Regions from separate parts of the Homo sapiens genome. Here regions 1, 2, 3, 4, 5 and 7 are each linked to region 6. Evidence: promoter capture Hi-C in 16 types of primary human blood cells and fetal thymus (Javierre and others, 2016). All regions are on one chromosome and are shown on one strand. Each heading gives the region's core, a stretch centred on a gene start or on the middle of the fragment in contact. The rest is flanking DNA. Distances are from core to core; before and after follow the strand shown. Region 1 holds the start of IGSF9 (immunoglobulin superfamily member 9). Region 2 overlaps CFAP45 (cilia and flagella associated protein 45). Region 3 has its middle 27 kb from the start of CRP. Region 4 overlaps LOC124904436 (a long non-coding RNA gene). Region 5 has its middle 22 kb from the start of DUSP23. Region 6 holds the start of CADM3-AS1 (CADM3 antisense RNA 1). Region 7 has its middle 29 kb from the start of LINC01133.

The links. The method cuts DNA at HindIII sites, captures the fragments that hold promoters and counts their contacts. A CHiCAGO score of 5 or more calls a contact.
Region 1: the fragment with the promoter of IGSF9 here is called in contact with the fragment with the promoter of CADM3-AS1 in region 6 in 3 of 17 cell types (M2 macrophages, megakaryocytes and erythroblasts); the score reaches 6.5 in M2 macrophages.
Region 2: a fragment that was not itself captured here is called in contact with the fragment with the promoter of CADM3-AS1 in region 6 in 5 of 17 cell types (erythroblasts, megakaryocytes, M0 macrophages and 2 more); the score reaches 10.4 in erythroblasts.
Region 3: a contact is called between a fragment that was not itself captured here and the fragment with the promoter of CADM3-AS1 in region 6, in 1 of 17 cell types (M2 macrophages). The highest score is 5.4, in M2 macrophages.
Region 4: a fragment that was not itself captured here is called in contact with the fragment with the promoter of CADM3-AS1 in region 6 in 1 of 17 cell types (M2 macrophages); the score reaches 7.5 in M2 macrophages.
Region 5: a fragment that was not itself captured here is called in contact with the fragment with the promoter of CADM3-AS1 in region 6 in 3 of 17 cell types (M2 macrophages, M0 macrophages and endothelial precursors); the score reaches 11.9 in M2 macrophages.
Region 7: a contact is called between a fragment that was not itself captured here and the fragment with the promoter of CADM3-AS1 in region 6, in 1 of 17 cell types (naive B cells). The highest score is 5.3, in naive B cells.

What each region holds. Positions count from the first base shown.
Region 1 is chr1:159,943,517-159,947,223 of GRCh38, forward strand. IGSF9 (immunoglobulin superfamily member 9) reads right to left here and starts at 2,097. Exons shown (of 21, transcript NM_001135050.2): 1 at 2,057-2,097; 2 at 1-112. It overlaps LOC124904438 (a long non-coding RNA gene), which reads left to right. Exons shown (of 3, transcript XR_007066684.1): 2 at 2,636-2,936. RefSeq lists a silencer at 2,083-2,377 and an enhancer at 2,220-2,720. The HindIII fragment of the contact is 10,806 bases long and covers 1-3,001 here.
Region 2 is chr1:159,892,183-159,895,993 of GRCh38, forward strand. CFAP45 (cilia and flagella associated protein 45) reads right to left here. Exons shown (of 12, transcript NM_012337.3): 2 at 998-1,123. LOC124904434 (a long non-coding RNA gene) reads left to right here. Exons shown (of 3, transcript XR_007066678.1): 2 at 165-319; 3 at 963-1,044. Among named protein-coding and RNA genes, the nearest start is that of MIR4259, 6.0 kb to the right of the region's middle. The HindIII fragment of the contact is 2,539 bases long and covers 923-3,461 here.
Region 3 is chr1:159,739,958-159,744,092 of GRCh38, forward strand. No RefSeq gene overlaps it. Among named protein-coding and RNA genes, the nearest start is that of CRP, 27 kb to the left of the region's middle. The HindIII fragment of the contact is 3,809 bases long and covers 1-3,451 here.
Region 4 is chr1:160,007,171-160,011,239 of GRCh38, forward strand. The region is part of intron 3 of LOC124904436 (a long non-coding RNA gene); the gene reads right to left. Among named protein-coding and RNA genes, the nearest start is that of PIGM, 23 kb to the right of the region's middle. The HindIII fragment of the contact is 373 bases long and covers 2,368-2,740 here.
Region 5 is chr1:159,756,488-159,760,673 of GRCh38, forward strand. It overlaps the pseudogene RPL27P2. Among named protein-coding and RNA genes, the nearest start is that of DUSP23, 22 kb to the right of the region's middle. The HindIII fragment of the contact is 1,789 bases long and covers 712-2,500 here.
Region 6 is chr1:159,200,292-159,204,556 of GRCh38, forward strand. CADM3-AS1 (CADM3 antisense RNA 1) reads right to left here and starts at 2,131. Exons shown (of 4, transcript NR_037870.1): 1 at 1,959-2,131; 2 at 521-1,330. CADM3 (cell adhesion molecule 3) reads left to right here. Exons shown (of 9, transcript NM_001127173.3): 9 at 513-3,022. The coding sequence ends at 631. The HindIII fragment of the contact is 9,224 bases long and covers 1-4,265 here.
Region 7 is chr1:159,988,457-159,992,111 of GRCh38, forward strand. No RefSeq gene overlaps it. Among named protein-coding and RNA genes, the nearest start is that of LINC01133, 29 kb to the left of the region's middle. The HindIII fragment of the contact is 2,876 bases long and covers 792-3,655 here.

The DNA.
Region 1 (3,707 bases), core at 847-3,346, 740 kb after region 6:
GGATGTCCTTCTGATCAGCTCAGGGAACAGGTTTCAGCTCTCACTCTTCTGTACAGTGAGGGCTTGGCTCATGTAACACCCGAGGAAGCTGCTCTCCGGAGAACCACCAGATCTAAATGAAAAGTACAAGGCAACATGCAGAGTTGGCCAATACTGGAGCCCAGAAGAAACCCCACCATTAGAGAAAGGCACTGGGAAGAGAAAGGAGGGAGGAGTGTAGTTAAGTGAGGGGTAGGGGGAAGGGGGGGATCTTGAAGCCCTGGGGAGTAAGAGCAGGGGTAGGAGTACTGGGAGAATGGTGAGTGCTGAATGCAGATACTAGAAAGGTGAGGAAATGGGGGAGGCTGGGAGAGTTGGGAAGGTCTTAGGAAATGTGGAAGGATTCTGGGGATGCCTGCATTCTGAGGGTCTTGAAAAACTAAGCCAGAAGAGAACTGGGGTTCCTCATATGCTTGGAAAAATATTTTTGAAGGAAGTATGGTAGATCAAGACTCTCATGGCCTAGGCTGCTCTCGCTTCTTTCCTTACTCTTGATGCTCACAAGGTATAGCAGCAAGATGGAACCAGTGCTGTCGCCTTCACCCCTCTGTGACAAATAAGGGCCCTGAGGATATCTGCTCAGGGGCAGAGAGCCAGTCAAGGGCAAATCCAGGGCGCTTAAGCCTCAGAAAGTGGTCCCCAGGACACCCCGATACAATCCCTTGTCCCATTTCCCCAGCCTCTATGAAAAACTCTGGAAGCTGAGGACCCGAGGCCTTTCTCCATTCAGTCTCCCTACACTGCTTTGGCAGTGAGTGAGTCAGGCACTTGGGAGAGGAGGAGCTGCCTCCCCCACCTGCCAGTATGGGGGATCCAGGCAGCATCCTCCAGGTCTGGACAGGTCCCGGGGCTGGCAGCTGGCGCCACTTCCTCACGATACTGCCAAGCAGCCCTCCCCCTGCCAGGCACCACCACCCAAGGACCTCACCCAAATCCCTCCCACTCACTCCCCTCCAATATCTTCGGGGTGCCAGGGTTTGTCAAGCTCTTTCTTCCCCAACCCCAGAGGCATGGTCCAAAAAAAAGCCTGTGAGTCCCTGAAGTGTACAAAATTAACCCTGGGGCATGGAGGGTAGGAGCTTCTGACAGCCCCACAGATCCTAGGGCAGTCTCAGAGAGCCAGAGGGTCCATGCCAGGGCCTGGCACTGCCAAGTGGACTCTGCTCTGAGTCCTCCAACCCACTCTTGGCCGCAAAGTTCAGGACAGACTATAAAACATCCTCCACAGAGTCTGATCCTTGCCTCTACTTAATGATCCTGTATGTCTAACTTCTGGCAATTCACTAGCAACCAAGCCCCCTGTTTCCCACTGCCTCCAGGCAGCTCTCCCACACTTCCCTGAAAAACCTTTTTCCAAGTATATAGGAACCCCCTAGTTCTCTCCTGGTTGTTTTCCGAGACTCTGAGTAACTAGGCATCCCTAGAATTCCTCCCAGTCTCTTAATATCTTTCCAACTCCCCCGGCCTCCACTATTTCCTCACCCTTCTAGTCTCCCCACACACCACTCCCTCGTCCTCCCATTACTCCCTTCCCAGTTATCGCTACTACGCACAATCCCCCCACAATTCCAGCTTCTCGCACCTGATCTCCAATTGCAGCAGGTCTCCTGCACTATAAAGAACTCCCTTCTGGTCTCCCCACCCCCCAGCCACTTCTCCCCATCCTCTCCTCCCGATAATTCCCCTCCCTGGGATTCTCCTGCATCAGCCCACAATACAATTCTGATACCCCACCCCCAACAATTCCTTTCTCCCTCGCATTCTCTGGTCCCCTGGAACTCCTCCTTTCTCTTAGAACCCACCAAGAACTCCCCCACATTGCCTCCAGAACTCCTGCAGTTCTCCGGGAACTCCCACCCACCCGCCAAGAATTCCACTTCACTCCCCAGAACTCCCCTAGTTCTACTCCTGCAACGAATTCCACTTCTCTCTAGAACTCCCCGCTTTCTCCTGTCCCCCATAACTCCGCACTACCAGCACCACCACTTCTATACCTCCAGTACGCCCCCTCCCTCACCTGCTCCGCACCGCTCGGCTCCACTCTCGCCGCTACACAATAGGGGGCGGACCCGCCTCCCCGCCTCGGATGCCCCGAGCGCCTCCCGTCGCCCTGGAGACCGCCAATCCCCCTCCCGCGGCGGCCAATTGGAGCCGCCAGAGGCACGGCGAGGCGGGCGGGACCCCTGAGCGGCCTGGGAGTTGTAGTTTCAGGAGGGAAGAGCTCGGCTGCACGTGGGCTCAGGTCGCCCCCTCGTGGACCTCTGCACAGCCAAGCGTGGAAAGGCCGGTGGGCCGCTTCCCGCCGCCAGCAAGAGGGGCAGCAGGGTCCGGCTCGCGCTCCAGGGCTGCGGGAGCTGGCCCCTTGCCAGGCTACTGGTACGCCGTCCTTCTTTCGGAACCTACGGGCGACCCTCTCCGCTCCCCGAACGGGCGCGCCACAGAGGCGGCAGCGAGGGTTGAAATCTGAGCCTGGGGGTAGGAGAACCAGGCGGGGAGCATGACTCCCCGCCCTCCTCCCAGGGGATCCACCCAGGTCCCGGGCTCATCCGATCTCCTCCCCCATCCCCATTTCTACCTCCACCCATTGCTTCTCTAGCAGGACTGGAAATACCTGTCTGCATTGGCGAGCTCCCAAATCTTGCCCAGGCGCCTCCCACCGTGTGCAGCTGAGGAAGGCTGTGCTCTGAGCGTGGGGTTGCCAAGTCAGCTCCCAAGGCAGCTCTGGCACCAACGACCCAGAGAAACAGGCCCAGAGGGGAGAAACGACAGATATCCTGACACGGGAGATTGAAAGGGAGGAATGAAATACAAGATCACTTACTGGACCCATGCAGGGTGCCAGACCCTGGACTAGATGCTTTATAACTCTTGTGTAACCTTCACAGAAACCCTGCGAAGTAAGTAGAGCTCCCTTTGACTAATGAGAAAACTGAGGCTCAGGGAGATGAAGTAACTTGGCCCAAGCTTTCCCAACTAGGTTATGGCAGAGCTGGATTGAGACCCAACCCAAACTTCATCAAACCTACTCCCTTGGAGGCTTCGCCCTCAGACACAAAGATATCTTGCATATCTTGCCCCTCAGAGATTCCACCTCCTCAGCCTGGTGATGCTGTAGGGATGCTGGGTCGGCTTAAGCAACATTGCCTGTCCAGGTCCTTCCCATTCAGTTGGCTCCCTTGGAAGCCTTCCATGAAAGCAACGTGCTGATCTCATCCCAATCCGAAGTACTAAGACTCAAACTGAGTGCACCAGGCATCAGACTCACAGAATCACTGCTGCAGCATCATGAGAGAACCTCCAGGATGGGCCTAAGCACTACTTGGCCCCAGAATCCCTGGCACATCATTTCTCCATGTAGTCATCCAAGCCCCTATCTCATTACATCCTGGGCCAGGAAGCTCAGCACTACTGTTGTACCCATTCCATCCTTAGTAAGCTCTGCCTGCTGGACAGTTCTTCCAGGTGTAAAGGTTTTAGTGCTTTTGGGTGACTGAGATGGAAGGGAAGAGGCAGGAGCAGTGGGCCAGTCTCTCCCACCATCCCTCCTGCAAATAGTCCCAAAGTAGCAGCTTTTCAACAATGCATTTCAACATAATACCCTGATCTATTGATAAGACTATAATGGAAACATGTTAATGAATGCAGCATGGAAGCAAGGCTAGAAGAAA
Region 2 (3,811 bases), core at 942-3,441, 690 kb after region 6:
AGGCTGAGGCAGGAGAATCACTTGAGCCTGGGAAGTGGAGGTGGCAGTGAGCCGAGACTGTACCATTGCACTCCAGCTCCAGCCTGGGTGACAGGAGTGAAACCCTATCTTTAAAAAAATAATAAAAAATAAATGCATCTGTTGATCCTTTCCCTTACCAACAGGAAAACTGCTGCAGAGTGAGAGTCTTCTAAATGGATTAAGAAGCCTATCTCAATCCCTCTGGAGAGTCCTCTTCAATTCACAATGAAGATGTTGAAGAGCAGGGACAGACATCAACACTCCTCTCCCCACCTTCCCCACTGGCAGAGGCATTCAGGTCACTACTAGTGTCTCTCTTTCTCTTTTCCCCTTCTCTTAATCTCTCACTGCCCTTCTCTCCATGTCATATTCTCTTTTTCTCCTTCCCTCTCTTCCTTCTTACCTACTAAACTCCATATGTACCAAAATCAGTCAAAGCTCTACTATCTAGCTCTCTTTATCTAGACTAAAGGAGTTGTCCACCTCTTGGTCTAGATAACACTTGCAAATAAAGACCTGCTCGTTTCCCAAAGCTAAGTAATTGTTTTAGTTGAGCAACTGGGAAAGGAGGATGGTTTTGTGTTGTACTCTGATGCTATTATCCTTGGATGGAGCGGGGAAGATGTTGCTATTGTCTGCAAGCTTAGCCCATCAGCCCTGCAATGTTTCCATCATGGAGCTCAACTGAGCAACTATTGCACTCTCTGCAGCTGAGCCTCCCTTTTGACATTATAACAGATTTTAAACACTGTGAAGACATGAGAGATTCTAGGGTGGAAGAAGCTAGGTGTCCCTGTTTACATAGGCCCCACTAGATCCCAAAGCTCTGCAGCTCAGGTCTCAGAATTCCCCTTTGTCTTCAGTCTGAGAGTTACCTACGAGAGCAAGGTTACTCAGCAGAAGCTTTGCCCTGAGCTACATTTTTGGGCCTCTGCCTGCAGGTGGCATCAACTTGAAAGGACTTGTTGAGGATTACCTTGATATCTCCAAAGAGGCTCTCATCCACCTCAGAGCTCACGGCTTTGGTCCGATAGCGAGCCTTATTCCTTGACCTGTTGGAAGCGGCAGAAGAGGAGCTCAGGATGCCAGCTGTGCTTAGTGGCTGCAGGAAGAGGCAGAAAGTTTGGGTCATCAGTACTGAGTGGCATCCAGACCCTGGGAAGTCAACAATTCACCAGCCCATGCTGGGGGAGTGGGTGGGCATGTGAAAAAGAAACAGTTAGGGAAAGCGGCTGTGTAAACTCTGAACCATAGGGGACAAGGAGCAACAGATGGAGGGCATCCCCACAGAGCAGGGAAGGGTCTCTGCAAAAAAAAGAGCTCTGCATAAAGCAGCATTTGTGTAAAACAGTTGATCTCATAGAAGTACAGAGTAGAATGGTGGTTACCAGAGGCTGAAGAGAGGAAGGGGAGGGGCATGGGGAGAGGTTGGTCAGTGAGTGCGCAGTTACAGTTAGATAGGAGGAATAAGTTCTGGTGCTCTATTGCACAGAAAGGCCACTATAGTTAATAATAATGTACTGTATATCTCAAAAGAGATACACAATATCTAGGAGAGGATTTTGAGAAATATAAATGTTATAAGATTAAATGAGATGGCAAGGTCTAGTATTTGATAGCGCAATAGAATGACTAGAGTTAACAATAATGTATATTACTATATATAAATGTATATTAATATACATGTATACAATAATATATATAAATATACATGTATACAATGTATATTAATTTACATTGTATATTTCAAACTAGCTAGAAGAGAGAATTTTGAGTGATCTCACTGCAAAGAAATGACAAGTGTTTGAGGTAATGGATATGCTAACTACCCTGATTCAATCATTACACAATGTATATACATGTATCAAAACATCACACTATACCCCATAAATGTGTACAATCATTATGTGTCAATTAAAAACAAAACTGTTTTGTTTTTTGTGGGGTTTTTTTAAGAGCATTTCTGTAGTCCCTGAAGCTGAAGGCCAAGTCGGCCACATAGTATGGAAGTAAGGATAAAGGAAGCAGGAATGGCAGGAGGAGAGAAGCAACAGTTTCTCATTATCTGCCTAGTACCAGTTTCCCAAGAGGACAATCTCTTGTGGGGCAACTTGGGCTTGCCCCCTGAGACACGCACAGTGTCCCCTTTGCCTCCAATCTTTTCAGCTTGTGCTTCAAGTCTTTCTCACAAATGACGCTACTGTTTGACCTCCTTCGTGTCTCCACAATCTTACAAGGTTATGGTGGGACCACAGGATATAAAGGATGGAAAAGTGCCTCACCCACTGCTTGGCATGTGGTTGATGCCCAATAAACTTGAGGCAGTGGGTGAATGATAAATGATTACTAGCTATAATCAAGCAAACCAGTTCATAATACCCACTATTTGGCTGTTTCTCTCCCAAGACCCTTTTAGTGTGCCTTAGTCATTTTTTAACCCCCTACTAACTTCCTATTTTGGCAAATTCCCCATCTAATGAGTTGTGGGAGATAGTGCTCTTCTCCAACTACAGAAGCTGAAAACATCAAATATTCACCTCAGCCTGGCCAAGGGACCTAGGCTTAGCCAATGAGATGGCCCTGGACTGACAATGACTAGGGAACTAGTGGACCAAAAGGCAGAACAAGGAAAACCTTTCTGACCCAAACAGAACTGGCAGCCAGACCCAGCGTCTGGGCAACACTGATAACGATACCAGCAGCGGCACCCTATGTAAGGAATTGGCAGTTTTGGGGGTGCAACAGTGCATCAGGGTCCTTGCCAGACCAGTTCTAGGTTTTGATTTTGGTCTTGGTTCCAGCTGCAGAAACTTCTTTTGTTCCTATTTGTGAGCTCTCCAAAACCCTCTTAACACATTCTCTTTTACTTAAATTGGAATTCTGGCTCTGTTGCTTGTAACTAAGAATCTGACGAACACAACCTCCATTCCCAAAGGACAGGCAGCTTCATCTCAGTCCCAAGAGTAGACGTCTATCTCTAAAAGGTAGTGTCTACAAGGACTACTGGATGACTCCAGGCTTATGATAAAGCTGATTCAAACCTCACTTTGGAGGAGCCCACATGCCCCACACCTCTCTAAACTGGGCTACCTTGAAGGAATAGGCCAGGCACATTGGGTCTCCCCAAGCCTGGGAATCAGCAGCTGATAAAGGAACAGGGTAGACAGGGAAATATACCATGCTTTCCAGGTCCCTAAGCCCTGGACAGTGTTCTGAAAGCTCTCTCTGATCTGCCATTACCAACCAGACACCCCAGCACCTGTTACTCCTGTATCAGGTTTTCACACTCGATTGGACAATTATTTTCCAGCTGTCTCTGTGCTGTACATTGAACAATGCTATATGTGCATTTCCCTCACTGCCCGGCACAGCCAGCAAAAGGCTTACACAGGGAGTCTCCCTCTACAGCGTCAGCCAGCCCCAATACTGTAGAGCAGAAAAGCTTGGATTTATTAAAAGGTAAATATAGCAGCCCCAAGGATGCCTAATAACAGCCTCTGAAGGGTTATTATATGGTAGGTGGTGAGCTACGGCTCCCCTTTCCACCAAAAATAGAATAAGAGGAAATGAATAGAAACTTCAGTAGGTGGGATTGAGGCTAAGCATTGGGAATAACTGGAAAAGGTGGATGGCTTTGGATCATGAGTTTTGTATGTAATTAAGGGAAAAGGTGCAGTGCCTGGCACATGTAGTAGGAACAATATAGCAATGTGCATTTGATGAAGAATGAATAAAACCGAACAAGGTGACCTCTCAAGGACAGGACTGCAGACCAGATTGAGATGGATAC
Region 3 (4,135 bases), core at 297-2,796, 540 kb after region 6:
CTCCCCTGTTAAGTCCCTTCTTTTTGAAACCTTGCCTTCTCCCCAGTAGTTCAAAGTGGTTGCTTTGGTTGGGAATCTGGCCACCTCCCCAGTACTAGTTTTGGTTAATAAAACCACTTTCCTTCTTCCAGACCTCACTCTTGTTAATTGGATTCTGCAAGCAGCAAGCATCCAGACATGCATTCATTTATAATAATGGGACAGATTCAAATTGTGTACCACTGACTAGATGTAATGAGGAGAAAAATGCAACTATTCTGTGATATTACTGCCAAAAAATAACTGACCTGATTCTAATCACAAGGGAGCACCCAACAAACTCCAAAAGAGGAACATTCTCCAAAGCAATTGGCCTGTAATCTGCAGAAGTGCCAATGTCATGAACATTAAGACAATTTGAAGAACTCTTTCAGAATAAAGGGGTCTAAAGAGACATGATAACTAAATGCAATGTGTGATCTATATTGGGTACTTTTGCTTTAAAAAGGACATATTTGGAAGAATTAGTGAATTTGCAGAGGGTCTGGGGATAAGATGGTACTAATATATTGGTGCTGATTTTTTTATTTTGATTGTTGTTATGTACTTGTAAAGGAAAATATCCTTGCTTGTAGAAATTATACATTAAAGTGTTTAACGGTGTCTTAGACACGCAGTGCCATGAGCAGTCTGGGTATCCATTCCTGTTGGAATGGAAATACCACAAACTAGGTAATTTATAAATAATAGAAATGTATTTATCTCAGCTCTAGAGGCTGGGAAGGAAGTACAAGATCAAGGTGGCAGAAGGTTTAGTATCTGGTGAGGGCCCAGTCTCTACCTCCAAGATGGTGCCCCAAACACGGTGTCCTCACATGGCAGCAGAAATGGAAGAGGGAACAGGCCTAGATAATTCTCTTGACCCCTTTTATAAGGTCAGTAATCTCATTCCTGAGGATGGAGCCCTTATGACTTAATCACCTCCTAAAAGCCCAACCCCTTAATACTATCACATGGCAGCTTAGATGCCAACATATGAATTTGGGGGGGACACATACATTCAAACCTTAGCACAGGTAATAGGGTATCACATTGGCAACTTATCCTTAAATGCTTCATAAAACAGAAAGTTCTTTGTATTATTCTTAGGGGAAAAAATAATTACCTTCAATGACTTCCATGTCACTCAGCCAAAGTCTTCTACAGTGGCCTTCAATTCCCTCCATGACTTTCCTCTATTGTCATCTTGTGCCCCATTTCTCTGGATTTTCCCCGTAATCTGCTCTAGTGACACAGATTTTCTTGCTTTTCCTCAAACCCATCAGGCACACTCCCACCTTAAGGCCTTTGCACTAGCTATTCCCCCTGCCTGGAATGTTCTTCCCCAAGAAATCTACCTGGTCAACTCCCTCATCTCCATCAAGTTTTACCCAAATGTCATTGTTTCAGTGGGGCCTACAAGGACCACCTTACTTTTTTTAATTTTACTTTAAGTTCTGGGATACTTGTGCAGAACCTGCAGGTTTGTTACATAGGTATACATGTGCCATGGTGGTTTGCTGCACCTGTCAACCCATCATCTAGGTTTTAAGCCCCACACGCATTAGGTATTTGTCCTAATGCTCTCCCTCCCCTTGCCCCCCACCCCCCGACAGGCCCCAGTGTGTGATATTCCCCTTGCTGTGTCCATGTGTTCTCATTGTTCTGAATGAGAACATGCAGTGTTTGGTTTTCTGTTCCTGTGTTAGTTTGATGAGAATGATGACTTCCAGCTTCATCCATGTCCCTGCAAAGGACATGAACTCATTCTTTTTTATGACTGTATAGTATTCCATGGTGTATATCAGTTACATTTTCTTTATCCAGTCTATCATTGATGAGCATTTGGGTTGGCTCCAAGCCTTTGCTATTGTAAATAGTGCTACAGTAAACATACATGTGCATGTGTCTTTATAGTAGAATGATTTATAATCCTTCAGGTATATACCCAGTAATGGGGTTGCTGGGTCAAATGGTATTTCTGGTTCTAGATCATTGAGGAATCGCCACACTGTCTTCCACAATGGTTGAACTAATTTACAGTCCCACCAATAGTGTAAAAGTGTTTCTATTTCTCCACATCCTCTCCAGCATCTGTTGTTTCCTGACTTTTTAATAATCGCCATTCTAACTGGCATGAGATGGTATCTCATTGTGGTTTTGATGTGCATTTCTCTAATGACCAGCAATGATGAGCTTTTATTCATATGTTTGTTGGTGGCATAAATGACTTCTTTTGAGAAGTGTCTGTTCATATCCTTCGCCCACTTTTTGATGGGGTTGTTTGTTTTTTTCTTGTAAATTTGTTTAAGTTCTTTGTAGATTCTGGATATTAGACCTTTGTCAGATGGGTAGCTTGCAAAAATTTTCTCCCATTCTGTAGGTTGCCTATTTACTCTGATGATAGTTTATTTTGTTGTGCAGAAGATCTTTAGTTTGATTAGATCCCATTTGTCAATTTTGGCTTTTGTTGCAATTGCTTTCGGTATTTTAGTCATGAAGTCTTTGCCCATCCCGATGTCCTGAATGGTATTACCTAGGTTTTCTTCTAGGATTTTTATGGTTTTGAGCTTTACATTTAAGTCTTTAATCCATCTTGAATTATTTTTTGTAAAAGGTATAAGGAAGAGATCCAATTTCAGTTTTCTGCATATGGCTAGCCAGTTTTCCCAGTACTATTTATTAAATAGGGAATCCTTTACCCATTGCTTGTTTTTGTCAGATTTGTCAAAGATCAGATAGTTGTAGATGTGTGGTGTTATTTCTGAGGTCTCTGTTCTCTTTCCCTTGGTCTATATCTCTGTTTTGGTGCCAGTACCATGCTGTTTTGGTTACTGTAGCCTTGTAGTATAATTTGAAGTCAGGTAGCATGATGCCTCCAGCTTTGTTCTTTTTGCATAGGACTGTCTTGGCTATATGGGCTCTTTTTTGGTTCCATATGAAATTTAAAGTAGTTTTTTTCTAATTCTGCGAAGAAAGTCACTGGTAGCCTGATGGGAATAGCATCGAATCTATAAATTACGTTGGGCAGTATGGCCATTTTCACAATATTGATTCTTCCTATCCATGAGCATGGGAAGTTTTTCCATTTGTTTGTGTCCTCTCTTATTTCCTTGAGCAGTGGTTTGTTGTTCTCCTTGAAGAGGTTCTTCACATCTGTTATAAGTTTTATTCCTAGATATTTTATTCTCTTTGTAGCAATTGTGAATGGTAGTTCACTCATGATTTGGCTCTCTGCTTGTCTATTGTTGGGGATCACCTTATTTTAAAAGGAAAAAAAAAGTCAGTCTTCTTTTCACACTCTTCATTCCCAAATCCTGCTCTAGTTGTTTTGTTTTTATTTCTCCAGAGCATTTATCCCCTTTTACAGACCACATAATATAATTTTATATTACGTTTATTATTCATTGTGTTTTTCTTATGCTAGAATATAAGCTTTATGGAAAGAGAGATTTTTGTTTTTTTTGTTTTCTTCGCTGATTTTTCCCAAGTTTCTAGAACAGTATATGGCACATAAATATTCATGGAATAAATCAAAGAGTTTCCAGTTCTGGGTGTAGGATCAAATGTATTTGAAATAATATTTTGTAGTTTTTATTTTTTTATTTCTCAAAATAAAAAATTGGATTTTTAAAAAGGAAGCAAAGAACAGGACTTTCATTTCTGTCAATATAATAGACTGGAAAAATTCAAACTATAGAAGGTTTACAAGTACTGGTAAAAAATAACAAACATAATTTTAAACGCATAGTTAATCTACAAAACGGCAAAGGAAAGCCCCAAGAAACAATAAAAAATGAGCAGGAAAGCCACAGTGAAAGATAATAAGAGCATGGGGTTATCTTACTTGCCCAGGTCTTGGCTTCAGGGGCAAGAGACAAGACCTTGCGTGGAGTGGGAACTGAGACCTAACTGCCTGCATACACAGACACACATACACACACACACACACAAAGCCAAGACCATCAGAGTGCTACATCGTCACTGAAATAGTATGGAAACATAACAGTATAAGTCATGCTTTTTTTAAAATTTAGCCTTGGTTAGAAAAATAAGCCCAAGTAAAAACTAGATGCCTCAATTAACAATTGTTAATGAAGAAACATTTCTAAAAGGG
Region 4 (4,069 bases), core at 1,304-3,803, 810 kb after region 6:
TTCCAAGCATTTTTAGTTATAAAAATGCCTTCGTAAAGTGAAATGGTCATAGTTAATAATGACAGTTAATCTTTGTGTTTTCACATATCGTCTCATTTCATCCTTACAACACCATATGATCAGTGTCATTATGTTACAGCTGAGGGAAGTGGGGCTAGACGAGGTTAAATAACATACTCAAGATCAGACAGCTAATGAATGAACCAGAACTCAGACCCAGTTGTGTTGAACTTCAAATCTCATGCCCTTCAATCCCTCAGACTCCTCTCTATGAAGTGGAAGGGGAGGTTTTGCCAATTGAATAGAAGTTAGGGGCTCCTCACAGCCCCACTAACTCCACTTCTCATCCAGGGAACTCAACTTGAAAAACATCCCTTTTTTCCTATCAAAAAAGATTTCAAGTAAGAGTTTTGCCTTTATAGCAGGTCGAATAACTCTTGATTTGATAAAACTTTTATCAAGCTTAAGATACAATTTTTAAAATTCTCATAGTTCTTTTGTGTCTCCCAAACAGATCCAGTGATTCCCAGAAGTCTGCAGACCCCACCCCAATTAAGAAATTCAAGCAAATTTCAGACAGGTGGCCACATGCACAATAATATGGCATATAGTGACATCTATTGGTCAATTGTGATATTGCATCCAACTTCCTTTCACAGGAAATTTAACAGGAGCTGGTTGATGTGGAATTATACTAGTCTCAGGTATAAATCAAAATAAGAAAAATTCCTTTCATACAGAGAAAGCAGAAGGGAGATCTTGGAATCTCCATGTTCAGTTAAAGGTCTGAGTCCTAGTCCTGATTTTACCATAAATAACTTGGTATAGACTTGGTTAAGTCACTTGGTCTCAGGAGCCTCATCTTCAATCAAACAGGGTCACGCCCTCTCAGAGGCCCTCAAAACACTAAAGGACACCCTCAGGGCCCTCTAGGAAAGGCAGAGTCAAGTGAGTGTGGCTACTGTCTTCACTCCCACATCTAGGCACATCTATTATTATCTTTTCATAAGCGAATTTTCTTCTTAAAAGTTTCAAAAATATTCTGTTTCTACTATTCGGACCTGGTCAGCCCATGTCAACATTTACTGTACCCCGCACATTTTAGGGTCCTGTACTAAATCTATTCTTGTTTAGTTTTGTTTTGTTTTACAGACAGGGTCTCACTCTGTCGCCCAGGCTGGAGTGCAATGGCACGATCACAGCTCATTGCAGCCTCAAACTCCTGGGCTCAAGCAATCTTCCCACTTTGACCTCCCAAGTAGCTAGGATTACAGGCATGAGCCACCAGGTCAGTCCGATGTACTGAATCTTTGTAATCTACAAAAATAGGAATCTAGCTCCCTTCCCTTTAAGAACTTACAATTTAGTTGTGGAATAAAACAAACACATCATCTACTCATTCTTTAACTAAGCATTTTTGTCAAATCAATTGGAAGATTTTCTTCCATGAGATCATATCTCTGATTTTATAAAACAAGTCAATGAGAGAGAGAAAATTCTTTTTATAGTCAATCTTGCTGGAAGGCATCTTTACCATAAAATAAATGTTTCAGGAGTCTCTTGGGAAGAATTCATGATGCAGTTGAGATCCACTGTCATCACTATGTAACAGTGTTCCTTCTCATGGGAATTGGATGAGATTAAGAGACTTTGTGAATATTCTCTGTTGTGCTTAAGCAAAGTTTATAAGGCTCTTGGTGTCCCAACCAAGAATACAGGCTTTGTATAGGCAAGAAGGGGAGGCATAAGATATCTGTAAATTTCCCACTAAAAGCTCATCTTCACTTAGAAACCAAATTGTTTGATTATTAAGCATTTCTATTCAAGAATAGAGAGAAATTTACTCCTCAATGATCCAAATAAGGTAATAATGTCATAAATAATGATTGATTAAGCACTTACTCTAGCCCTGAAACTCTCCTAACAGTTTTACCTCATTTAATTTTCACATCTCTAAAAAGTACATTCTATTTTTATCATCATTTTAGAGAAGAGGAAACTGAGGCACAGAGTTATAAAATAACTGAGGAAGTTATGATTAGCTAACTCCACTGATCCAGATTGCCTGCCCTTGCGAAAGTTGTAAAAGGAGGTCATAACAGTACCCCTCCCCCACAGGCTACCGGTTACCCCCAAGGACTTTGCTGTAGGCACAGCCTGCACCCAGCTCTGGGCTCAGGGACTTTCTGGACAATTGCACAAGGTCAGGAGTGGCATGGGCAATGCCTGAATAATTGCCCAGCCTTTTATGTTAGAAAAAAAAGAAAAGAAAAAGAAAGTGAAGTTCTTTAGGCCTGTCTCTGTCTCATAGCACTCTGCATAATCTGTCTTATTGTGGTCAAAATGCAATATGTACACTACTTTAGAAGCTTATCAAATCAGAGATGTTCTCTTGCTCAGGTTGGGCCCGACTGAATGATATCGGGGCAAAGTGATGAGAGTTTCAAGACTCCAACAGACATAAAAGAATAAAAGAGTTATTTCATTGTCCCATTTTTCCTCTACCCTAGAAAGTCCAAGAAACACTTGATTGTAATGTGTACAGTTTCCAGATTTTGACCGAAGATAAAGTTATTTTCAAATATCTGAGAAATCTAAGACCACGTTCCCTACCCTACCTTCCCCCTGTCCTCAAGTTAAAGACCCATGGACCACAGCCAAGCCCCTGGGCAAAGCTGGATAACTCTCAAAGGGGAAGTATTCTGACCTTTCAATTATATTCCCGAGAATGAGGATGATAAGCTTGAGTCCCCCAATCATAACTCACTGCCATCTTAGACCTGCTGAATGGACAGGTCTGCTCTGACAGATAGATTATGAGGCACGCAAAGAACAAAGAACCTTTCTCTGAGGAATTTCATAATCACTGTGTCTTTTCTTCTCCTTCCTTTAACATGTGTAATTTATCTTCTCTTGGAAAGGTGCATATAAATTTTAATGCAATTTGCTTAAGAACAATTAACAAAGTCACAATTTGAGAATCCTATTTGTTTCCCAGGAGAAAGGGAAACATCTGAACTGCATGCTGAGTACTAAGGAGACTTCAGGCCCTTAAAGAGGAATTTAACTAGAAGGTATCCCTGATTTGTCAGGCCCTTAAGACAATAAAACATATCTGTGTGATCATAAGACAGCCCCATCCTTCAACACTGACTAAAAAGCCTTAGGTGACATTGAACAAGCAGGCACATATCTCAGGACTTCAAGATTAGAGAGATGGAGCCCTCCATCTCTAGTCAAATAAAACACTAGTCACAGAATTTCTGTAAAGGAAGAGTATTAAGGACATTGTCCAATCTCCAGTTCTACGTACTTTCCCCTTCCACAATGTGTTTGGCAAATGGTCAGACTCCCTTTCTATTGTCCAGAGGCTAGGAGGAAAAGATTATCTTATTCCACATTAGAAACAAATGCTTATCCCCCAGGTGGCTATAAATCCCAGGTGGCATTCAGGTAGTTTCCCTTGTAACCTGCTGATGCAGCTGAAATTTTCTCAAGTATGGATTGGAAAAAAGAAGCTGCCTATCCATCTCTACCCTCCTTGCTAGGCTCTGGGAGGCATGCTGAATGCACAAAAGGCCCACTTTTCAACTTGAGAGTCAATACAAGTGGAATAGCCAGTGTTTCCAATTCAGCATGACAATCTGAGTCAATGCATTTAACACTCTCCCTTCGTAACTTGCAGCTGAAATGACCTATGCAAAAGAAGAGGACAAACACTCCACTCCTTGGTGTGACGGGACCAGAGATGAGTGACGATCATAAGACTGTCATTTTGTTGAGGGCAGTGTCAAATTCAAACTCCACCACCACCTTGAGAAGGAAACAGGTGCTGGAGCTCTCAAGGAGGGCCGGGTGGTCCCAGGGATGCTCAAGACTTGTTCACAGCACAGAAGGCATGGAGAATGGAGCAGAGGTTCTGATGAGGTTTGCTCTTGGGGAGGGCCGCCATGCTGGCTGGAGGGGTACTGCTGCCTGCCCCGGTGGGCTTCAGCTGCTGTGACAATCCCAGGAGGAGCCCTTCAGCCAGAGATGAGGCTGCCTACCTATGGCCACCTCTCTTCTTACT
Region 5 (4,186 bases), core at 356-2,855, 560 kb after region 6:
ACAACAGACCTGTCCCTCCAGAGCCCCACTCTTAGGCTTTGCTGGGCTTACTGCTCCATGGATCACCAGGCTCCTGTGGTCACAAGGAGGCTGTAAGAAATGCAAGGCCATCTAAGAGGAAGTTGAGCATGCTGCTGTGTTCCTCAGGGATGTCCTGAAATGCCCCCTGTTTGCAGTGTTGTGAAATGTTGTAGATTCTCTTCCAGAATTTTCTCCTCCATACCAAAGTCTAAAAACTATTTGTTGATAAAGGTTTTAGGCAATTACTTCAGAACATAGCTCCATGTGTTGGGTTTTCTGAGCAGTCAGCTATGTAGAAGCTTCAGTTAGCATTCTTTCTCTCTCTCTCTCTCTCTATCTCTCTCTCTCTCTCTCTCTCTCATCCTTCCCATCCACATTTGCAGGTAGCATGCCCTTGGCAGCGTTGATCCCATAAACAGAATAGTAAGCAACTACTTGCCTGGTGTAATTTGAGATGTGGCACAATCCCCCTGCTCAAAATATCATCCCCACCAAATGCCACAGGGCCTAAAATTCCCAGTATTCAACTCACGGCAGCTAATCTTCTCTTGCTTCACCCCATCATCTCTCCTAATACCTGCACGTGTGAAGCATGTCCATCCTTCCGGGCCTAACTCAACATCACTTTTTCCTGAAGCTTTTGTGATTGCCCAGTTGGAAGTGATCTCTCATTCCTCTGAACATTCAAAAAGCTTCACTTGTGCCGCTTTTATGTTACATATTACTTTATATTTAAACACATGTACTATGTCCCACCAGGCATAATCTGGAGATTCAATTCCTCTGCTGACTCTTATTTATCTTTGTACCACCATCCCATCCTCAAGTAACCAGACCCAGAGCTGACAGTTAATAAAGAATCAGTATCTGACCAATGGGTGCTATATGGGTGAATGAGGAGTAAGACACAGCTTCTCCTGGGCTGAGATTTTGCTGCTCACTAGCTGTGTATACTTCAGCAGTCACTTCAGTTTTCAGAGCCTTATTGTCTTCCTATAAAATAAGGTCATTGAAGAGTTATAAAATTCCAGAGCTCTCTCAGCCATCATTGCTAATCTACTGGATGATCTTACAGCTCACACTGGTTCAGCAAAAGCCCAATATTATTTGCATTCACTTTTGGAAATGGCTTGACAAAATATATACTGTATTAAGGTCTTTAAAAAGGAAAAAGGTAAATTTTTAAAAAACAGTAAGATAAGGCCAAATAAAAAGCAAACACACAGAAATAAATTATTGATGGTCCTATTTACTTACGAAGTAGGACATAAATTTAGCTTTGAGCTTCATAGCAACCAAAGCAAAAATGTATTAAAGTAAAAGTCTATTGATTGCTCAAGAAAATACAGATTTTCCTGTTACTAAATTCAAAAGAAATTGATGTAGTAAACTTTGTACTCAAAAATCCCAACAATGAATATGCCAGAAAGTTTCATAGAACTATTTCCTGCAGTATTCTTTTACAAGAGTGTTCCAGTTATCTATCGCTGCACAACACCAAAATAGTGGCTTAAAGTGACAGCATTGTATATTATTATCTTACTGGGGATAGAGGGGCTAAGCTAAGCAATTCTCACTTACAGTCTCTTACAGAAATGTAGTCACAAAGTGACTGGGTCCGAAGTAACCTGGAGCCTAAGTTAGGAAGATTCAAACAGCTGGAGGCTAGAACAGTTGGTCCTCTTCAGATACCTCTCGAGGTCCCTCCATGTGACTCCAGCATGGCAGTGTTAGAGCAGCTAGAACTCTTACATGAAAGCTCAAGTGCTGAGAGGGAGACAACCAAGCCAACTTTAGCACCTTTTATGAGCTAGCCTCAAAAATCACATAGTATCACTTCTAACACATCCTATTTGCTAGAATCAAGCCACGAAGACCAACCTATATCCAAGGGAAGGGTATTTTAGTCTCCATCTTTTGATGCGGGAGTGAGATCCAAGAAAGTGAGAATATGTTTTAAAACCATGATTAAGGAAAAAATAGAAATTTGCTATTCAATAAATGCTATTCTTTGGAAAGCCAAAGAAGAAATACTTCAGCTTGATTCAGGGATAAAATTTAGAATTACAGAGTTGTGCTGTTCAATATGGAAGCCACTGGCGTGAGTGGCTATTTAAACTTCATTAAAATTAAATAAAACATTTTCAGTACCATTATTTTGTTTTAACAGCCACATTTCAAATGCTCAATAGCCACACATGGCTAGTGACTATTAACGACGGACACACAATTACAGAACATTTCCATCAATGCAGAAAGTTCTATCGAGCAACAGTTACCTAGGATAATGAAAGAACAATATATCCTTAATAGAGGCTGAGGTGTAGGGAGCATTACTTGAGCCCACAAATTCAAGGTTACAGTGAGCTACGATCATGTCACTGCACTCCAACCTGGTGACGGAGCAAGACCTTGTCTCTAAAAAGAAAAAAAAACTATATATTCAGCTGTCAATTAGAACTGCTAAGTCTTCTAATTAAGCTTTTGGTAGGAATTGGGCAAAAGAGATGTCCAAACTGTAACATTTGACAAGACTATGAACTGCATAAAATCTGTGTTGCTAAAAAAAGATAGTCCATATGCCTTAAAAATCAACCAAGTAGGAGGTAGATTCACTTCCCTTAAATAAGACGAAGGTAGGCCTGGGTGGTTGCTGTCAAAATGGGCAAGTTCATAAAACCTGGGAAAGTAGTGTTGGTCCAGGCCAGACACTACACCGGATGCTACTCTGGATGCAAAACCATCATCGTGAAGAACATTGATGATGGCACCTTAGAATGCCCCGTCAGCTGTTCTCTGGTGGCTGGAATTGACTGTTATCCTTGCAAGGTGACAGCTGCCATGGGCAAGAAGAGCACCCAGAGGTCAAAGACCAAGTCTTTTGTGAAAGTTTATAACTACAATCATCTCATGCCCACAAGGCACTCTGTGGATACCCCCTTGGACAAAACTGTCATCAACAAGGATGTCTTCAGAGACCCTGCTCTTAAACACAAGGCCCAAAGGAAGGCCAAAGTCAAAATCAAAGAGAGGTAAAACCTGGGCAAGAACAAGTGGCTCTTCCAAAAGCTGTGGTTTTAGATGTTTTGTTTTGGTCATTAAAAATTTAAAAAATAAGTCAGGTAGTGTGATGCCTCCAGCTTTGTTCTTTTGGCTTAGGATTGACTTGGCAATGCAGGCTCTTTTTTGGTTCCATATGAACTTTAAAGTAGTTTTTTCCAATTCTGTGAAGAAAGGCATTGGTAGCTTGATGGGGATGGCATTGAATCTGTAAATTACCTTGGGCAGTATGGCCATTTTCACGATATTGATTCTTCCTACCCATGAGCATGGAATGTTCTTCCATTTGTTTGTATCCTCTTTTATCTCCTTGAGCAGTGGTTTGTAGTTCTCCTTGAAGAGGTCCTTCACATCCCTTGTAAGTTGGATTCCTAGGTATTTTATTCTCTCTGAAGCAATTGTGAATGGGAGTTCACTCATGATTTGGCTCTCTGTTTGTCTGTTGTTGGTGTATAAGAATGCTTGTGATTTTTGTACATTGATTTTGTATCCTGAGACTTTGCTGAAGTTGCTTATCAGCTTAAGGAGATTTTGGGCTGAGACAATGGGGTTTTCTAGATATACAATCATGTCGTCTGCAAACAGGGACAATTTGACTTCCTCTTTTCCTAATTGAATACCCTTTATTTCCTTCTCCTGCCTAATTGCCCTGGCCAGAACTTCCAACACTATGTTGAATAGGAGTGGTGAGAGAGGGCATCCCTGTCTTGTGCCAGTTTTCAAAGGGAATGCTTCCGGTTTTTGCCCATTCAGTATGATATTGGCTGTGTGTTTGTCATAGATAGCTCTTATTATTTTGAAATACGTCCCATCAATACCTAATTTATTGAGAGTTTTTAGCATGAAGGGTTGTTGAATTTTGTCAAAGGCTTTTTCTGCATCTATTGAGATAATCATGTGGTTTTTGTCTTTGGTTCTGTTTATATGCTGGATTACATTTATTGATTTGTGTATATTGAACCAGCCTTGCATCCCAGGGATGAAGCCCACTTGATCATGGTGGATAAGCTTTTTGATGTGCTGCTGGATTCGGTTTGCCAGTATTTTATTGAGGATTTGTGCATCAATGTTCATCAAGGATATTGGTCTAAAATTCTCTTTTTTG
Region 6 (4,265 bases), core at 881-3,380:
TTTCTACCTTCTCTCTTATATCCATGCCTTCTCTCTACCCTCTTCTCACATTCCTTCCTCTCAGACTTCCTGCTCTGCTATTAATTCTAGCCAGCGGCCTGACTCCATAGGCTGGTCATACATAAGCCAGATCTCAATTGCTTTGCTCATGAAGCTGACATAGCAGATCCCCCGTCACCAAGTTGCGTGCACACGCATGCATACACACACACACGCATGCGTGCAAGCACACACACACACACACACACACACACACACACACACTTCTCTTTCTTGCTTTGTATTATAGATGAGATTCTACTTAGGGGTAGGATTCATTATTCATGAAGGGTGTGGTCAGGTGAGGCATGTTGGAAGCAAAATGCGAATTAGGTAAGGTGGAGTAGAAGAGAGCTATTGGCAAGAGAAAAATTACTTGAGCAGTGTGTGAGTGGGTGGGTGAGAAAGTGGGCAGGGTGGACTCAGAGGTTGGGAAGCTGCTCCTGAGAGGAGAAGCCTCTGTCTCTACACAGGAACCTACCTGACACATGAGGCAAAAGGCTCCGACGATGCTCCAGACGCGGACACGGCCATCATCAATGCAGAAGGCGGGCAGTCAGGAGGGGACGACAAGAAGGAATATTTCATCTAGAGGCGCCTGCCCACTTCCTGCGCCCCCCAGGGGCCCTGTGGGGACTGCTGGGGCCGTCACCAACCCGGACTTGTACAGAGCAACCGCAGGGCCGCCCCTCCCGCTTGCTCCCCAGCCCACCCACCCCCCTGTACAGAATGTCTGCTTTGGGTGCGGTTTTGTACTCGGTTTGGAATGGGGAGGGAGGAGGGCGGGGGGAGGGGAGGGTTGCCCTCAGCCCTTTCCGTGGCTTCTCTGCATTTGGGTTATTATTATTTTTGTAACAATCCCAAATCAAATCTGTCTCCAGGCTGGAGAGGCAGGAGCCCTGGGGTGAGAAAAGCAAAAAACAAACAAAAAACAAAACCCTGGAGTGTTAGGAGGAGAGTGAAGGTAGAGGGGTGAGGAAGGGTAAGGGGCAGGGCTGGTTTCAGCTGGGGGCTCTCACCAGCCCTCCTTTCAGCCTCTACAACAGAGCAGCTTCCCAGACTTCTCCAGGAACCCAGAAACGGGATGGTTGTCGGCAAAGGTTGGGAGTGGCTTTTCCTCTGGTAGCCACACACCTGAGCACTACGGACAGGGAGGCAGGTGCCACCTTGACACCTCTCTTCCATAGCAATGGGAAAGTGATGAGTGCGGGAGTCCTGAGGAGATGTGGCCTGCAGACAACATGCAGCCATGCAGGGACCCAGGACTGTAACCTGGGGAGGACGCGGGTCCCTGCAAGGAAGAGTAGATTTGGAGAGGAAGGATGGAGGTGGACTCTCACCCCATTCCCCCCGGAAATGAACAAAGCCGGGCCCTTTCCATAGGAACTGCCCTTGGAGATAGCAGAGTGTGGCTGCCCCTCCTTGCTCCAGCAGCAGTGGGAGAGGCACTGCTCTGGGGCCTGAACTGCCTCTGCTTCCCCCCCTGAGGGGCCCCTCACTCTTACCCAAGACTCTGGATTGTTGCACGGCAACCACTCCTCCCATGGCATTGCTCAGCAACTACTTCTCCCTTCCCGGCCACCCTGTGCCCCCTTCCTGGTCCCAACGCCAGCCCTTCATCCTTCCTCCCTCAGCAGCCAGGCAGACATAACAACAAAACTACTAAAAGGAGCTTCACTGCAGTGAGCTGTTTCCTGCCCAAACTAAGGGAATAATGTGAACTGTGTGCATGTGTGTGGTGTGTATGCATGTGTGCATGTGTGTGTGTGTGTGTGCATGTGTGTGAGTGAGTGAGAGGCAGAGCGAGGAACTGAGGAGGAGGGCTAAGAGCCAGGGGTCCTGGGCAAGTGGACAGGGCTGTGGGACATGTTGGGGAGGCTTTGGGAATGGGGTATTCCTAGTCAGGGTTCACACCTCACCTGGGATGTTGTTCCATGCTGGTATTTCCTCTGCCACCCCCAATGCCCATCGGTCTTGGAGAAAGGAGTCCCCGGGTGTGTGTTTGCCCAGCTGTCCATTCTATCTCTCCCTTAAACACAGAGCATTCAGCCCTTCCCTGGATTTCCCTCCTCTGAGCCATGGAGTCAGTGCCACAGCCTTTGCTATGCACCTCTCAGGCCTCTCCTTGGCGTTGACCCTGGAAAGACCTACCACCACCTATTTTTTCCCATAGTCTGTACCCAGTGAGTTGAAGGCTGGGTCCCCACCCTTCCTTTTGATTTCCTGTCTTCCTTCTCGTGGCCCCAGCTGGTTGCTGTGGAGATGAGGTTCCTGGTCCTCCCTGTCCTGGCTGGACTGCCCCGCCTCAGATCCAGGATGCCCTTGGCATCGCTCCCACCCTCCCCCAGCTTTTCCTCCCTGGTCTGACAATGGGCATGCAAAAAGGGGCAGCTGCAATCTAGCAGGCCTGCCCACCCCCTTCAGTTCAGGTAATACAGTTGTGAATCTTCCAGCCGCTGGTTAGGGCCTTGGGCACCACAGGCAGCCCCTCACCTAAGCCGGGGCCTACTCCTCTTACAACAGCAAGAGAGCCCTGGGGCCCCAGGCCTGTTGAGCTTCTTGTCTCCCAGCACCCGCTTTTGGGAAAATGACTTTTCCTCTTCAAGCTGAACCACTCTGTCCATATTACACAGAAGCCATATTTGTACGGGGGGGTGGGAGGGAGAGGGGCTGTTGTGCTGTGTGTGTCTGTCCAGGGGTGGGGGGGTGGGGGAAGGGAGCAGGGAGGGGACCGTGTATCTTTATAATCTTTCTAACTCTCCTGTGCTAATCTCAGAGGGGTCACCCTCAATATATCTGGATTATCCGTGTCATTCAGCTGCCTCCTTTCTGGTCCTCTTGCTGCTGCTGGGATGTGTGTATGTGAGGGTCTTCTTCCCATACCCCTTGCACCTGGTGCCTGGTGCCTCAAAAGGTGGTGTGTCCCTTGCCAGGCCACTCTCAAGAATATCTATGTACAGCAACAATATAACTCTACAAGGGAGAGAAGTGTGTTCACTTCCTTTTGCTAAGCCCTTCCTTTCCAGAGAGTGTCTTGGGGGGCATCTGACTGCTTCCCCCCACCCTCTGCCAGGCATTGCTGGAGAATGTTAAGACGGCGATGGAGATGCCATCAACCCCACCCTGCAGAGCATCACCAGACACCACCAGACCAAATTCACTTTCCAGCCCCTTCATGTTGAACCTGAAACTTGAGCTAGTGTCTTGGGAGAAAAGGGGGAAATCTCTACGAGGTACCCATCCTTCTGCACCTTAGGTCTGAGGTGCTTGGCCCCCTAGGAAGCCCTACATGAATGGGACAGAAGGTCCTTAACAACACTGGAGATGAAGCAGCCGATGCTGTTTTGGACAAATGAAACAGCGTCCCCTAACCAGCCCTTTCTATCTCATTGTTCTGACTTGGACACGCCATGGCTCACCGCTCCCAAAGTCCCCACTATGTCTCCCTAGCTGAGGAAATAAAAGCAGAGAGGGGTGATGAAACAGTGACGATCCTGGGGAAACAGCTGAGGAGGGGAGGGAGGGGGAAGAAGCCACTAAAAAAGTGAAATGTGCTTGGGAGAATCGGCCTGCCTGCAGGGTAGATGCCCTTTCTCTCTGCTGGCCAGCTCTGCCCCTCAGTGAGAAACTTTACATATTGCTAAGATGCCTGGCCAATGAAACAGTTCCAGAGACTTTATGTCCCCCAGTAGAAATATGAATAGAAATCACCCTGTGGGCAATGGTCCCATTTTAAAATATGCTGTCCCATTGTCCCCTAGAGCCTACTTTAACTTGTCAGACCATGTATTCCACTTCATATGCAAGAGGCATGCACTGAGCCCATAGGTGGCTAGGCAAACACCCAATAGCTCCCTGAAATGGCTTCATTATGCAGCCTCGACAGCCACCCCAACCCTCCCACTCTCACACTGAAACACCCAGACCTAGAGATAGCTAGACACACCCAGACACCCGCCAAGCCCCTCACATACAGATATGTGCACAATGATACACAGCAAACGTACACAGAGTTCAGTACACACAAAGAGCTCACGCCCACGTGCACACACCCCTCAGTTGGGACAGAGTTGACCACCACCACCTTTCTCCCAAACACATGGCTTTTGAACTGCCTTTCCTTGGATCCAGTTCAAGGGGATGGAGGAGCAGTGAGAGTCAGCCGCCCTTCCACTCCAATTTCCCAGCACCTCCCTTATCTCTGCCTCACAAGTCACCCAGCCCCC
Region 7 (3,655 bases), core at 980-3,479, 790 kb after region 6:
ACTAATACAACATCTAAAGACTTCATATGAGGCAAACTAAACACTGTTCCAAGTACCCATGAAAATCCCAGAAGAGCTGACACCAACAGCCCAACACAGCCAGGTTTTTTCTTCCAGATTGGGACTTACAGTACCAATCAAAGAAGGTGGCTTTCATTTAGGAACCATGTGGTTCAAAACTACAAGTGTTTTTAAACATTAGAATCACACTCAGCATACTAAGATATCACACAAGATAACTGAGATTTAGGCAAAGCCGATTTGCCTCTCCTTCTCACTCTCATTCTGTGGTGTATATTCATTGAATGGAATAGCAGGTGGAGATTCTCTTACTATTTAAAGTGTTCTCTTGCTCACCGGGCACACTGGCACATGCCTGTAATCCCAGCACTTTGGGAGGCCAAGGTGGACCTCCCACTTGAGGTCAGGAGTTTGAGACCAGCCTGGCCAACGTGGTGAAACCCCATCTCTACTAAAAATACAAAAATTAGCCAGATGTGGTGGTGCATGCCTGTAATCCCAGCTACTTGGGAGGCTGAGGCAGGAAAGTCACTTGAACCTGGGAGGCAGAGGTTGCAGTGAGCCAACATTGTGCCACTGCACTCCAGCCTGGGCAATAGAGACTCCATCTCAAAAAATAATAATAATAATAATAATAATAGTACAGTGTTCCCTTGCTCAATACATAGTTGGGTTTGCTTAAGTTAAACAAGCATATAATGTAATTCCTTATTTGAGATTTTGTGTTTGCATTTTTAAATTAATAAGACATTTGTGATAAATTTTGGAGAAGCTTCTTTTACACTTTAAGACATCTAGTTTAGCCAAGACCATATTGAACCTGCCCATAGTCCATTGACAAGAGAAATGAAAATCCTCTTTCAGGAGGTAGCTGCAAAAGAATATGAATGCTTCTTTGGGCCCTCTATGTAAAACATGGCAACAAAAGGACTCAAGCCAGATCTTCTATCTCCATCCATCTCAGAAAGAATAATTCATAATGAGCGAAAAACAGCAAAATTGTGTCACTAAAATGACCTGAGACTTGGAATTAGGCAAAAGAAAATTCTAAGTGTTCTTTCAGTGCAGTACAGGGCATGATTTCTATGGACTATGTTATTTTACAATACTGTAGGAATACACCAGGCACAGTGGTTCGTGCCTGTAATCCCAGAAATTTGGGAGCCTGAGGCAGGAGGATCCCTTGATCCCAGGAAGGACCAACCTGGGCAACACAGTGAGACTCTGAGAGACAAGCGCTGGACACAGGAGCAGGCCACATGGGATGGTCTGGACAGGCTCTGCAGCACAGCAGCCTTCATGAGAAACAGGCAGAAGGGCCCGGGCATGAGAAGCTACTGCAAACAAAAAGCAGCAGCAGCTATAAAGGGCTTGTTCCCAAGCAACATGAATCATCTCTGAACTGGTCTGGTCCAATCCCTATAGTCTAACTAGCAAATATATTTTTTAAAATATTAGCAAACACACACACTAAAAACAGATTTTCATCTTTGCCAAGTGTGTGTTTTTTTCCTACACCAACCTATTATCCAATTCTCCTACAACAACTGAGTATCCTATAATTCAGTTCAACTCTGAGACTCAGTGGCGGGCAGACTCCACAGGCTTAAGGGCACAGTCCCATAGGATTGCCCTCACTTCTGATGCCAGTCACAAGCATCAGATCTCCAGGCTACCCACATTTGCATCTGACTTGGCTACAAAGTCAGGCTTCCCACACCCCACCCCTTGCCAGGGTTCAATAATTTGCTAGAATGACTCATAGAACTCAGGGGCCACTTTACTTACATTTACCGATTTATTATAAAGGATACAAATGAAGAGCCAAAGGAACAGGCCCAGAAGATGAGGTCCGGGAGGGTCCGGAGCACAGGGCTTCTGTCCCCATGGAGTTGGGATACACCATCCTCCCAGTATGTGAACGTGTTCACCAACTCAGAACCTCATTGTTTAAAGGTTTTTATGGAGCTTTTATTACATAGGGATGATTGATGGAATCATTGGTCATTGGTGACTAAATTCAATCTCCAGCCCCTCTCCCTTCCCCATATGAGGAGGGGGTGGAGCTGAAACTTCTGAGCTTTATCAGAACTTGATCAGAACTAGCTCCCATCTTAAAGTGATCTAGGGGACCCTGCCAAGAGTCACCTCATTAGCACAAACACAGATTGCTGAAAGGGGTGCATAATGAATAACAAAAGATGCTCCTATTGCTCAGGAAATTTCAAAGGTTTCAGGAGCTTTGCGCCAAGGACAAAGAACAAATTTTTTTTCCTATTATATATTCCAATGAATCCAGACAAGTTCATCAGAAAGTCAAACATATTGGTTGTCACAGTATATCTAAATAAGTTATATTTTTCTATGAAATGACAAAGATCATCATATTTGATCTAACCATATACTGTCCACAAGAGGCACATCTAAAACAAAAATAAATAAATAAAAATAAAAAATAAAAAGATAGAAAAAGATATAGTATACAAAAAGAATTAAAGTCCTAAACTATTAAAATAAAGGATAAGTAGTAAAAATCAAGATCTGCAATGAAGATGTGTTTGTCATAAATCTTTAGTTTCTGAATAAGAGGAAAATGACCAAAACACAATTGCTGTGGAGATTTCATCAGTTCTTAACAGATCAAGTAAACAAACAAAAGATGTAGAATGTCAGAAAAAAGTCATTGCTGGGATCCACTTTGTAAATATTGAAAAAAAAAACAAAAAAAATCTTTTTCAGGGTCTATGGAACAATTTTTTAAAATTGATTACATATTAAACCACTAAAAACCTTAAATAAATTTCAAGCCCAGAAATTTCATGACTACATTGCATACCACAATACAGTAAAACCAGAAATTGAAAAAATGTGTAAACAAAAATCGTCCAACTACTTGGTTTGAAAACACTCTTCAAAATAATCCACGGATCAAACAGGAAACGAAAACTGCAATTTACAGAACTCTTGGGCAATAATGATAATGAAAATACCACATATCAACATCAAGAGAAGACATCCACATCTGTAATCAGAAGTGTAAAATCAACTTTAGCCTAAAGCTGCAGACTTACTTATTTTAAGTTCGGTCTAAAGGCTTCTCAGTACATCGTGAACTGTAACCTACCTGGATGTATAAACAGACTGTAGCCTACTTTTGTGCCAATCAAGTTTGGGCCAATCACAGGCTGCCAACCATTCAAACTGTGTTCAAATAAGCTAAATGCCTGAGCTGTAACCAATCCAGCTGTTTCTGTGCCTCACTTCTGTTTCCTGTAAGTCACTTTTCTTTTCCTGTTCGTAAATATTGCTCCACCACACAGCAGCGCCATAGTCACTCTGATCCTATTCTAGTTTGGGAAGCTGCCTGATTCACAAGTCATTATTTGCCCAGTTAAGCTCTGCTAATGTTAATTTCTCTAAAGTTTATCTTTTAACAGAAGTGACTTCAAAGGGTTTGAGGAAAATGGTAATGAACATTTGTTGAGCAATTACTGTCTGCCAGACACTGTGCTAAGCACTTTTACAAGTGGTTTCTCAATGATTCCCCATAACTAACCTGAATTGCTTTAATTATCAAATAAGAAAGAATGAGAATATATGAAGTAAGCATATAACTCAAGATGTCAAAAAGAGG